2 separate regions of the Homo sapiens genome follow, and region 2 is linked to region 1. Evidence: promoter capture Hi-C in 16 types of primary human blood cells and fetal thymus (Javierre and others, 2016). All regions are on one chromosome and are shown on one strand. The core of a region is centred on a gene start or on the middle of the fragment in contact, and the rest is flanking DNA. Distances in the headings are between cores, read along the strand shown. Region 1 holds the start of FBXL3 (F-box and leucine rich repeat protein 3). Region 2 overlaps MYCBP2 (MYC binding protein 2).

The links. The method cuts DNA at HindIII sites, captures the fragments that hold promoters and counts their contacts. A CHiCAGO score of 5 or more calls a contact.
Region 2: a fragment that was not itself captured here is called in contact with the fragment with the promoter of FBXL3 in region 1 in 1 of 17 cell types (total B cells); the score reaches 7.2 in total B cells.

What each region holds. Positions count from the first base shown.
Region 1 is chr13:77,024,120-77,030,299 of GRCh38, forward strand. FBXL3 (F-box and leucine rich repeat protein 3) reads right to left here and starts at 3,040. Exons shown (of 5, transcript NM_012158.4): 1 at 2,708-3,040. RefSeq lists silencers at 2,581-2,640, 2,661-2,940, 3,111-3,160. The HindIII fragment of the contact is 14,791 bases long and covers 3,007-6,180 here.
Region 2 is chr13:77,255,872-77,262,051 of GRCh38, forward strand. It overlaps MYCBP2 (MYC binding protein 2), which reads right to left. Exons shown (of 83, transcript NM_015057.5): 12 at 5,300-5,504; 13 at 4,557-4,721; 14 at 1,800-1,958. Among named protein-coding and RNA genes, the nearest start is that of MYCBP2, 68 kb to the right of the region's middle. The HindIII fragment of the contact is 2,125 bases long and covers 2,203-4,327 here.

The sequences.
Region 1 (6,180 bases), core at 1,790-4,289:
GTTTTTTTTTAATAAGTTTAGAGAAAAGTGTATAGTCTACACTGTAATCTTTAATATTAAGTCTCTTCTAATAATAATCCCTCACTAGAGGCTGAGATAACACTGTTATTATGACCCATTTTTCTGCTTTAACTTACCCTGAAGGCTTACTTTAATTTTAGTATATAAAATTTGGGTCAAAGAACAAAGTGTTTGCTATCCAGAGCTTATAATTTCTCTTCTGACCACCTAAAACTACTCACAATTTTGAGATACAGAGATTCAAAAAAGAATGACAGTCTTTGCAATTTCTACACCTTATTATAGAATACTGATTGCCTGTTTCTGGAGAACAATCTTCTAAAACCAGAACTAGACAACTTAAAGACGGAATGATTCATTTTACTTTAGAGTATATGGATATATAAACAAAAATAAAATGGTAGCCTTATTCACATAATAGTCTTTGCTAATAAATACTTTGCTGGTCCTAAAAATAGAAACTTTCTTTTGTCTATTATAGTACTGTTTTAAATAAAATGTACTTAAATACCTTTCCAAGTTCAGGTTAAAGAAGTTGACAAAATTTTTTTTAACAGTATGCAACACTAAGGGACAGTATCTCTTGATCTAGATATAAAAACACTATATGATCACCAAAGCCTATTTTAAGAACTTACCAGTTTACAAATAGCTGAATTAAGTCTGTTAATTGTCATACGTAATATGTCTATGTTACAATTATAGTGCATTAAGCAATTGAAAAAAATGTAAGGCCAAATTCCAATAAAAATATCCTCTGCACTATCCTCATTTGTGCATGAAAATAACAGAAGTGAGTGGACACTTAAAATTTTAAATGTCAATTTTTCCAAGTTGATTTCATTTATGTATGAAAAAATTTACACTACTTTAATAGTATCTTATTAAATCTATTTACACATGAAACTCTGCTATACATAAAATTAAACATCTCAGAGCATCTTCCAGCCTGCAAATAATTTACATCAATGGACCCTATAATTCCTACTTTTGTCAAAGTGAAAACACCTCCTATATTTGAAAAGAAGTGTGGAGAACCAAGCTGTACTATAAAACGTCAATGAGACATTCTAGACTCTAGAAATCTAGAGCACCAAAACTAGGCCTCTTCAGGGCTCTGGCAGTTTAATTTCCTGCAAAGCTTCTAGGCCCCAAATAATGCAACTTAGGCCACCACAGCTTTTGGTGAGGGACTGATATGACTACAAACTGCTAAATAGCAAACTACTGAGGAAAGACCACAGACTAGCTGAGCAGCACAAGGAGTTAGTGAACTAACTCTATGTTCCATAAACTTTCCAGGTGGGCGCGGTGGGCCACGCCTGTAATCCCAGCACTTTGGGAGGACAAGGCGGGCGGATCGCTTGAGCTCAGTAGTTTGAGACCAGCCTGGGCAACACGATGAAACCTGTCTCTACAAAAATTAGCTGGGCATGGTGGCCCATGCCTGTAGTCTCAGCTACTAGGGAGCCTGGGGTGGGAGGATCGCTAGAGCCGAGATCGCGCCACTGCACTCCAGCCTGGGTGACAAAGTGAGTCCTTGTCTCAAAAAAAAAAAAAAAAAAAAAAAAACTTTGAAAGAAGCAACTTCATTAGGTGAAGACCGGAAGTGAACAGCTAGCCGTGTGCATCGTTGTATTAGGCACTTTTACACTGGGCATGCAATAATTTTAAATGCTCATTTGTAGTTAACTCTAAAAAGCCTATTTTGGCATCACAGTTCCTTTCTGTTCTGCTTTTACTAATATCAAACTAATATGCATTCTTTGGCTGAACTACAAGAATAAAACACTATAAAGAGGTTAACTCACAACTAAATGCTTAGAGAGCGCACAGTGGCGAAAATCTGTCTACAGGTCATATAGATAGATAGATAACTGATAGTTGATGGTATTTTTATAAATATTTCAGAGATAACAGAAACTAAGTTACTTTTTTTTCAAGTTAGAAAAGGAGGATTCTAATTAAAAAATCTGGGTCACTCAACTGGATATCATTAGCAACGACAAAATAAAAATGATCTCTCTCACCTCTCAGCTTGGAGATACAGACCATTTACTGGGCTGCTTCCTGACCCCTGTCTGCAACCCCACCTAAAGGACTGCCCACGCCAAAGGCAGACGCGAATCCGCTCAACACAAGTTGACCAAGTTTTTCGCCTGGCTAAGCGGCAGGGGCGTCCCCTCCTCCCTGCGCCACCTCCCCACCGACTGGCTTCCCCTGACATTTCTCATGCGCCCCACCCTGGGCAGTTTGCTTTGACATTTCAGTGCCTCATTGCTCAAGCTACCAGCACGGGCGTAGCCGACGCCGGGAGAGCCCACAGAGTGCGAGCTCCATGGTGCCTGTCACCAGCCCCCGCCAAGGGTCATAAAGCCTGGCAGGAGCCGCGGCGAACCCGGGAGCGGCGGCGTCGCGGGCAGGCTGCAGGCGGCCGCCGCACACGCACCACGCCTTGTTGACATGTTTGGAAGCAGGCACGGCGGGGAAACGCCCCCAAGCAAGCTCCAAGGTCTGGGTGCCGCGCCCCGCGCCCCGCCCGGCACTCCTGAGGAGCGGCCCGCGCGCGCCCCGGCCCCCGCGCCCCCCCCCACCCCACCCCACCCCGGCCCGCCCACAGACGGTCCGCGGTCCCTCCCCGGCTCCGCCGTCGCAGCGGGGCTCGGCCCTGCCCCTCCGCCGTTACCTGCTGCCGGGGGCGGCTTCCCCCACACACCACCCCGTGCTCCGGGGACGGCGGCGGCTGCAGGTCCCGCGGCTCTCACATGAGGCGCCCCTGGCCCCCCGCTTCGCGCTCCCGCAGCCGCGGCCCCCCGCGCTCCGCCCGCATCCGAGGCGCTGGTCCCGCGGAGGGCGCCAACGCGGCTCCACCTTTGCGGCTCTGGCTGCCCAGAAAGAAGCTTTCCTTCTCAGTCCCGCGCTGTCTGTGTTCAGGGATCCCCGGCGCCGCGAGAGACTACCTCAGCGAGCGGCTGCCACCGCGTAAGCTTCCTGCACCTGGGCCACAAACAGCGAGTCTAAAATGGCGCCCAGGGCTCGCGGCCGCGCGCTTCCCTGGCGCGTCCCCGCCCAAGGGGGCGGGAAGGGGGCGGGGGGGGGGCGGAGCCCGGCGGGAGTAGGGCCGCGCCCAAGCGGGAGCGCGCGCTGCGGCCGCCCCAGTCTCCTTGCTGTGGGACGAGCCTCTGCCTTCCTGCCAGAGATGTGACTCCCGCTTGAAGGGGATTTTTTTTGTTGTTTTGAGATGGAATGTGGGAGGGCTGAAGCTAGCTATATGTGGAAGAGACTATCTGTGGCTGAAACTGGAAGGTTTAGGGAGGTGGAGCAGAAAAAAGAAAGGAAGGAGTCTCGCCGGAGCCTGCTGGGGACCGCGGCCCGCGGGTGGCCGCCCCGGATGCCTGAAACCGAGGAGTTAAATACAGTCTCCGAAGACCCGCGCATCGATGTGCATAAGTGGTGCTTAAAAGATGCCAAGGAAATGTACCAGAATAGTGAGAGTATTAACGCTGGGATTGCACATGGTTTTTGTTTTTCAAATATTTGTATTTCCCAATATTTCTAAAGTGGCTTTTATCATTAGAGTTATTACATTTTAAAAACGACATTTGCTTTATGAAATAGAGTCCTGAAATTTGTAAATAGCTTTTGAAACGCAATGGGGAAAGTAAAGGATTACAAAGCTGCTGAAAAGAAAACCTCTGGTGAATCCTTTTGTAAATCAAGGCATCTTTGTAACTGCTACCTAGTTGACTTGTTTTAAAGTTTGGATTTTTTGATACTGCGTTTTCTTACAGTTAGAAACATTCTTAGGTGCAATATCATTAAGTTGAATCATGCGCCATTCCTCTCTACACCTCCAAAAAAAAAGAGAGAAAGTAGTTTTCCATTCAAAGATGTCTTAGAACACTCAGACCCATGTATAAGACACTGAAAAGCAGTGGTGCCCAGGGAGCTCTCCGTTCTTCCCGTTTTCTCAAGAAATTGAGCTAGGAAGCCATGTATAAAGTTACGTCGAAGTTCAGTGTGAGGCCAGGAGTGGTACAGGCTTATGTCTGTAATCCCAACATTTTGGGAAGCCAAGGCAGAAGGGTTGCTTGTGGTCAAGAATTGGAGACCAGCCTGCGCAATATGTCCAGACTCTTGTCTCTACAAAAAAATAGAAGAGTAATAATTTTAAAAAATCAGACGAGCTTGGTGTAATCCCGGCTACTACTCAGGAGGCTGAATCGAGAGGATGGCTGGAGCCCAGGAGTAGGAGGTTACAGTGACCTATGATGTCACCACTGCACTTCAGTCTGGGTGAGAGAGTGAGACTGTTTCTATAATAAAATGAATTCAATGTGGGGAAATGCCAGTGTTGTTTGTTCGGTGTTTTTTAAGGGCCTGTCAGCTGTCAGATCACTGAATCAAACTGTACAAAGCCTCTAGTAGCATAAGAGTGTGGATTTGCCTGAGCTGCAACATTTGTTTAGGTCCCTCAGTGACTGGATGATGAGGAACAATAGGAAGTTCTAAGAAGGACAATGATAATTATTAAGGAAAAACAAATAAGTCAAATACAGGCCCATTTATTTAAAGTTGGGTGAACAGTATAAATGATCAGCAAAATACATTAAACCAATTCAGTAAACATGATGAGCATAGGTTGCATTACGTTAATATTGTATCACATTACGGTTATATCACATTCCAATCATAGTTCTTTTTTTTCTTTTTTCGCCATTATGATCTATTCTCCTCCTAAACAAGACAAGGACCTTGGCACACTTGACCTATTGAATACCCCTTTTCTTCCCTGTTATTGGCAAATATTTTATTTCACCTCATTTTTTTTGAAAAAAAACGTTTATTTTTTAATCAGTCAGTACTTATTTACATTTATCAATTGTATCATCAAGATCAGTGGCATGGTAGGTGGGAGAAAGGATGAGTGTGGAGCACATTGATCCAACTGGGAAAAATAATTTATTACTGACCCTGTTTGGAATTGCCAATGCATGTGGTAATAAAAAGCAGATGAACAATTAGTCTCTTTATTATTGTTTTAAATTATCCACAGACAATGTACCCCCTCCACCACGTAGAATGGTGTAGACTATTCCCACACCACCCCAGCCTTGGTACACCAATGATCAGGATAGATTAGATTATGTTGCAGTAGTTCCTTAAATACCATCTTGTAATTCCTCGTTTTTGATGACCTTTACAGTTTTTAGGAGTACTGCTTTAGTATTTTTGTAGAACGTCCCTCAATTGGGGTTTGTCTTAGGTTTTTTTCTTATAATTACATGGGGACTATGGATGTTTTAGAAGGAAAACTACAGAGGTATAAAGTACCATTCTCATCACATCATATCAAGGGTACATCTATTAATACGACTTATCCTTGTTGATGTCAACATTAATCAGAGGTTGAGATCAAGTTATTCTACTTAAAGTTACCCTTTTCCCTCTCTTTTTGTACTGGAAGAAAGTCACTATGTGCAGCCAACACTGAAGAATGTGGATTTACCTGAACTGCAACATTTCCTTGAGAGGGGAATGTCTATTTAAATTATTAAAACTTTTCTGTCTTGGGAGGTGTATCTACATATCTCTTAATTGTATATGTTTACTTTTCTGTCTGTAATTTCTGTAGATCTGTCTTCAAGTCACTAATTTAGTCTATTTAGTCTTTGCTAAGACTACCTTTGCCTGCGTTTTTCGTTTCTAAAAGTTTTATTTGGTTCTTTTTCATATCTACCTGATCTTTCTTGATACTCTTTTCACTTTGTAATTTCTTTTTTTCTTAAATTGTTTTAATCCTATGAAATAATTGGGGGTCTAATCATGATATGTGTCAATGTTTGTTCATGGTGGGTTGTTCCTCATGTATTTTATAATTTTGGATTGTGAGTTCATCTTCCGTACAACTTTAGCTGCAGGAATTTTGTGCAACAGGCAGAAGCTGGAAGGGGAGGAGATTGTTAGTGAGTGCTGGAAAGACAATAAGGAATTGTTAATGGAGTCCAGAGAAATCAGGATATCTTTAGATATCTTTCATATAATAATGGCAAGCCCAGGGAAACATTTGTCTATGGCAACATGGAAAGTAGAGAAATGCATTTATTTAATTGTTGGACTTGGCTAAAGAAATTTCCAAGCAGGCTGGCTGCAGTGGTT
Region 2 (6,180 bases), core at 2,015-4,514, 230 kb after region 1:
ACCAAAGTTCAACGCTTAGTTCTAATAATATATATGTATGGTTTAATCTCTTGACCAAAATCAGAAATTGGAGTGAAAGTTATAAACATAACGATAGCAGCTAGATATAAAAATTGAGGGCAAGAAGTAGACATGCTATTTACAACCACAACAACAAAACAAGACCACAGCAAACAGGGCAATCAAAGGAGAAAGCCCTTTGTTCTCTTCAATGGCCTGAGGGTTGGAGCAAAGGATATTGTGAAGAAGGTGTGTCTACAATTTAGTCTTTTCTTGGTAAAGTGTCAGATATTCATAAGGATCACTCTTAGTTGTCAAGAACAGGTTAAATTACAGGTAGCATGTGCTGTTAAATGGGAAGATAATATACGCCAGAAAGATTGCTGCCAAAAATGGTTAAAATTTAAAACATGTCGTGTAACAGCAGCTAATAAAAAAATGTTTGGAAAAGACTTTTCTGGAGTAATGCAGTCATCAAAGATGCTAAGCCAAAGAAGCACTATTTTATGTAGAATTTAGAAGATGATTGGAGTAAGCCAGCACATTTGCTCAAAAATAAAAAATCTAAAGTGTATTTGTTTTTCCAGTGATATTTTATCAGTAAATATTATCAAATAAATAAGAAATTCAGTGGTTTTCCTAATTCACAAATATAACGTCAAAGAGCCACTCAAATCCAATTAAAAAATGTGAAAAAGTTCTGAATAGACATTTTTCAAAAGTAGACATATGAATAGCAAACAGGTATATGAAAAGGTGCTCAACATCATGGATCATCAGAGAAATGCAAATCAAAACTACACTGAGATACCATCTCTCCCCAGTTAACGTGGCTTTTATCCAAAAGACAGGCAATAACAAATGTTGGAGAGGATGTGGAGAAAAGGGAACACTTGTACACTGTTAGTGAGAATGTAAATTTAGTACAGCCACTCTGGAGAGAACAGTATGGAGCTTCCCCAAAAAACTGAAACTAGAACTCAATATGATCCAACAATCCCACTGCTATGGATATACCCAAAAGAAAGGAAATTAGTACATCAAAGAGATATCTGCACTCTCATGTTTATTGCAGCACTATTCACAATAGCCAAGATTTGGAAGCAACCTAAGTGTCCATCAACAGATGAGTGGATAAAGAAAATGTGGCATATAAACACAAGGTAGTACTATTTAACCATAAAAAACACTGAGATCCTATCATTTGCAACAACAAGGATGTAACTGGAGGATATTATGTTAAGTGAAAGAAGCCAGGCACCGAAAGACCAACTTCACATGTTGTCACTCATTTGTGGGAGCTAAAAATTAAAACAATTGAACTCATGAAGATAGAGAGTACAATGCTGGTTACTAGAGACTGGGAAGGGTAGTCAGGGAGAGTGGGTGGGAAATGGGATGGTTAGTTGGCACAAAAATATAATTAGATACAAGAGATCTACTATTTGATAGCACAACAGGGTGGCTACAGTTGGCGATAATTTTTTGTATACTTTAACAACTGAGGGAGTATAACTGGAGTGCTCATAACACAAAGAAAGGATACATGCTTGAGATGATGGAGACCCCATTTACCCTGTGATTATTATTACACATTGTAGGCCTGTATCAAAACAACTCATGTACCCCATACATATACCTACTATCTACCCATAAAATTTTTAAAAAAAATTTAAATAGGAACAAAAAGAAAAAGAAGAGCCACTCATTTTGAAAAGAACAAGACTTTTCACTATGTTGTTCTGAAAAACTAATGAAAAGACAACACAAATTTTAATATCTAAGAATTAAAGACCTACCTTTCCCACCTTGGTTCATGGCACCAGTATCTCGTCCACACTGTCCTTTATTATTTACACCAAATGTCCACACCTCTCCATTCTTCATTAAAACACAAGTGTGAGCTTTGCCCATAGCTACCTGAGTTACAAAATGGCCCTTCAAATCAGTTACCAAACCTATAGGAAAGAAACAAATTTAGTAAAAACAACAAAAAGGCCCTTCTGAGCCTAGTAAAAGAACTACCTCAATGCAGAACCGTTTATTTCTGGGGCAAAATAACTCAACAAAATGAGAAATAAGTAGCCAAAAGACTGGCAGAGTATCACTGAATTAACTTTGTAACTTTGTAACGTAGCTTCAGTGAATCCTAAAACATTATCATCCAGACTTGGGACATATCTTTACTGTAGCTTTCTCTCAAGCTTACTTCTCCTGAATGCTTCCTCCAAATGGTAATACCTCTCCACAGTACTTTCAAACTTTTCTGGTCTAAGCACAAAGGAGTCCATAAATAATTTATTTTACCTGCTTTGACCTGCCTCAGCAAAACAAAGTAAAATACTTGCCATAGTATATTGACATGAAATTGTTTATGTAGAAACCAGTGAGACTTTTCAAAACAGTATTTTTTAATCCTTTTCAACCTACAATGCTTTCTTCCACAATCCAATACACAGTTATTTTCTAAACTTCACTTATTCATGTATTACTTTCATTATATTTGTCATATCCAAGTGCCACTCATATTATCTATTTAATATGTTTTGTATCAACTCTAAATTGATTGAAGCATCTTTAACATTAACAATCAAAGATTATTATTTTTCCAATATACATTAAAATAAAAACATGTTATCAAGTATTTGTTTTATTTAAATTACAAATAGTATCAATCTCATATTATGCTTTGGGAAAACTGTTCTACATTATTAGCTCAGATATCACTACCTTAAGGTGGCCTTCACTTTCACCTTTCACTAGTTTAGGTCTTTTTGTTAATTATACCTCAAAAATTTCCACTTTTAATATTTAGCACATTTGAAAAAGGTAAGGGTGTGTGTATATATATAAAACAGTAGTTATTTATTATTATTATTAACAGTACTAGCTGACATGCTTTGAGACCTTACATGATGTGCTAAGCATTTCTTAAGTTCTACCTCCTATAATCTTCATAACAACTATATGAAGCAGGTGCTATCATTATCTATTTTTTGCAGGTAGAAAAAAACAAAAAGAAAACTCTTAAATGTTTAGTAAACTGTTACCCAGTTAAAGATTAAGTAAACTGTTACCCAATTAAAAGCGTTGGTGCCAAGGGCCATGCGCGGTGGCTCACGCCTGTATTCCCAGCACTTGAGGAGGCTGAGGCGAGTGTATCACTTGAGGTCAGGAGTTCGAGACCAGCCTGGCCAACACAGTGAAACCTCGTCTCTACTAAAAATACAAAAAATACAAAAAATTAGCTGGGTGTTGTGGCACGTGCCTATAATCTCAGCTACTTGGGAGGCTGAGGTGGGACAATCGCTGGAACCTAGGAGGCAGAGGTTGCAGTAAGCTGAGATTGTGCCACTGCACTCCAGCCTGGGAGACAGAGTGAGACTCCCTCTCAAAAAAAAAAAGTGTTGGTGCTAGGATCTCAGTCTATGTCCATAACCATTCAATACCACTTCCCCAATATTTAAGTTCTGTAATACCCAACTGTCTCTCGGATCCTCAAAAAGGCAGTATCCAGGTCTGTCAGGTCCATCAATCACTAATGTATCACCCATGCTCAATAAATATATGTTGAAGAAATATACAAGTTTCCATCAGCTCTACCCAGTGGATGTTAGCAAGCAACAATTATATTGAATATTATTTTTAAACTGTACAAGAACCCACTCCCAAATTTTGATTTACTCTGATAGCTGCAGCCAATTGAGAATCTAAATATTACAACATTAAGCCAGTTCACTTATCATCTGGGTACACCTCCACTTAATAATTAATTGCTATAAATGTTCTACAGGTGTAATTTCCCCAGCATGGGACAATTACATATATTTCTAATCATAAACTTCATTAATTCTAGTTTCCTTTTTTACAAAGAAACTCAAAGGCTTTACATATTTATCACACATAAAATCCTTCCAAGTGGGATGCTTCACTCATTATATTCATTTCTAGCTGCTAGAAAGAAAATCTAGTAACCAAATATGACAAGTTTTTGAGATTAGCATTTATAAATATAAAACCATTTAGCTAGTTCTACCCCTCATATCCACTTCTCAAACTTTTGGTTTATCAGTCACCCAGGCACTAGAAAATAATTCTTGAGACCCTACAATGTGCCAGACACTGTGCTGGGCACTGGGGATAGAATAGTAAATAAGACAGATCATCCCAGCCAAACACCCTAATGGGGGAGATAAAATACTTCAACAATTATAAACTAGCTATGTCATGAAAATCACTTCTTCAGGATACTACCACTGTCCCAGGGACATGTCCCATAAGCACCTGAGTCTAGGGAAAACATCCACAGAAGTCACAGCTACAGCGAAGCTTCCCTTGCCAAGCTCTATGATTAGCTTTGCATGAAACTAGGGACAGTGCTCCTAGTGACAAGATATGACAGAAAATTTCTCTTTCGAAATATTTCACATTTGGAAGGAAATGTAAAAAATGTAGAGAAAGCATGCCACCAACATAAATTTTCTAGATATGTCTTTGTCATACATAACTAGTATTGAAACTTCTTTGCATAAAAGTAAAACTTTTTATTAACTTACTTGAACTATCAGAGTAAATGGCATCTTTTCCAAACATGTAGAGTTCTCCATCTTTAGAAATAACAGAACTACTTCCATTATTGCAGGCTGTATATACCACAATCTTTCCTTCCATCTTAATTATCTTTTTAGGTTTATAAGGTTTGGATTGCCGTCTGCTCTTAGCTTTAAAAAAGAAATTAGATTAAATCAAGACCTCTATGTACAAATAATAATAATAATGGTTTGTATATAAAGCTAAAAAAAAAACCCATATTATTTGCATTTATGACACTATTTGTTTATTTTCACAAAGGCCTGGGCTTCCCAACATGTCATTTAAAATCAGTGAACCTGCTAGCCTCATCTGGTCAATTAATATTTACGCTATCATTGCTAGATCCTCATTCCCTGAAGTACATTCAAATTCTCAGTGAGTAATATTAGTTTTCTACCAAACTCCTGGAGGGCCCAATCTCTAAATTAGCTATTGCATTATTAATACCATTCTACTAACACATATCTAAAATCTCCTTTTTTTCCCAAGTTGTAATTCACATGTATTCTTGTTAGATCCTGGAAAGTAAAATAAGTTCCTCATTCATTCAATATGTATTTATTAAGCAGTTACATCAAGTCAATGATATATATATAAAGTTGGTGTGGTGTTATTGAAATTCATAAACTTTATCTTAATAAAGTTTTATTTTTACTAAAATAAAGCATTTATTTTTATTAAATGCATAGTTGATCACTCAACTTACTTGATTCTCCATCTTCTCCTTTACTAGCAGATCCTGTAAAGAATATGCTCCCATCTTCTGCAACTAAAAGGGCGTGAGAGCCATCGTGTCCAACTGAGAAGTGTACTATCTTTGGAGATTTTGTAATTGGTAGCTCAACCCATTTTCCTGCTGAAGGACCACCTTGTTTGATTCCAAGACTCTGGTATTTGCCAGTGTAATATATCTTATGTATTAAAAAAAAAAAGGAATTATGGTACTTTTTGGAATAGTGCATCAGGTTTCACATGAGGAAAAAAAAGGACATCAATATTTTATTGAAAAATAAAATTCACATAAAAACAAACTCTTTTTTACACTATTCAGCTTCTGGGAGTTGAGCAAGAAATACACATATTTTGCCAAGAAGACACAGTTCATAATAGCTTTTTCATATCTTTTATCCATTAAGTTTCCTGTCTTCTATAGGCACAATTCACAGCACCCTAAAATAATTACAATAGTAACATCAAAGATAACAGATCACCATAACAGATATAATAATAATAAAGAAGTCTGAAATATTTCGAGAATTACCAAAGTGTGACACAGAGACACAAAGTGAGCACAGGCGGTTAGAAAAATGATGCCAACAGACTTGCTCAACTCAGGGTTGTCACAAACCTTCAATTTGTAAAAAGAGCAATTATTTGTGAAGTGTAACAAAACTAAGCACAATAAAATGAGGCATGCCTGTACTGTTCCCTACATGAATAAAATTTTATCTTATAAAAAATAATTTTAAATCAAAATTTAAAAGATGATTCTTCTTAAACATGCAAACTATATAAACTAATCAACAGATTGTATTTTAATCTCTTAAATCAGAGAATGCTCATTTTTAATCCAAAGAGAATAATTTA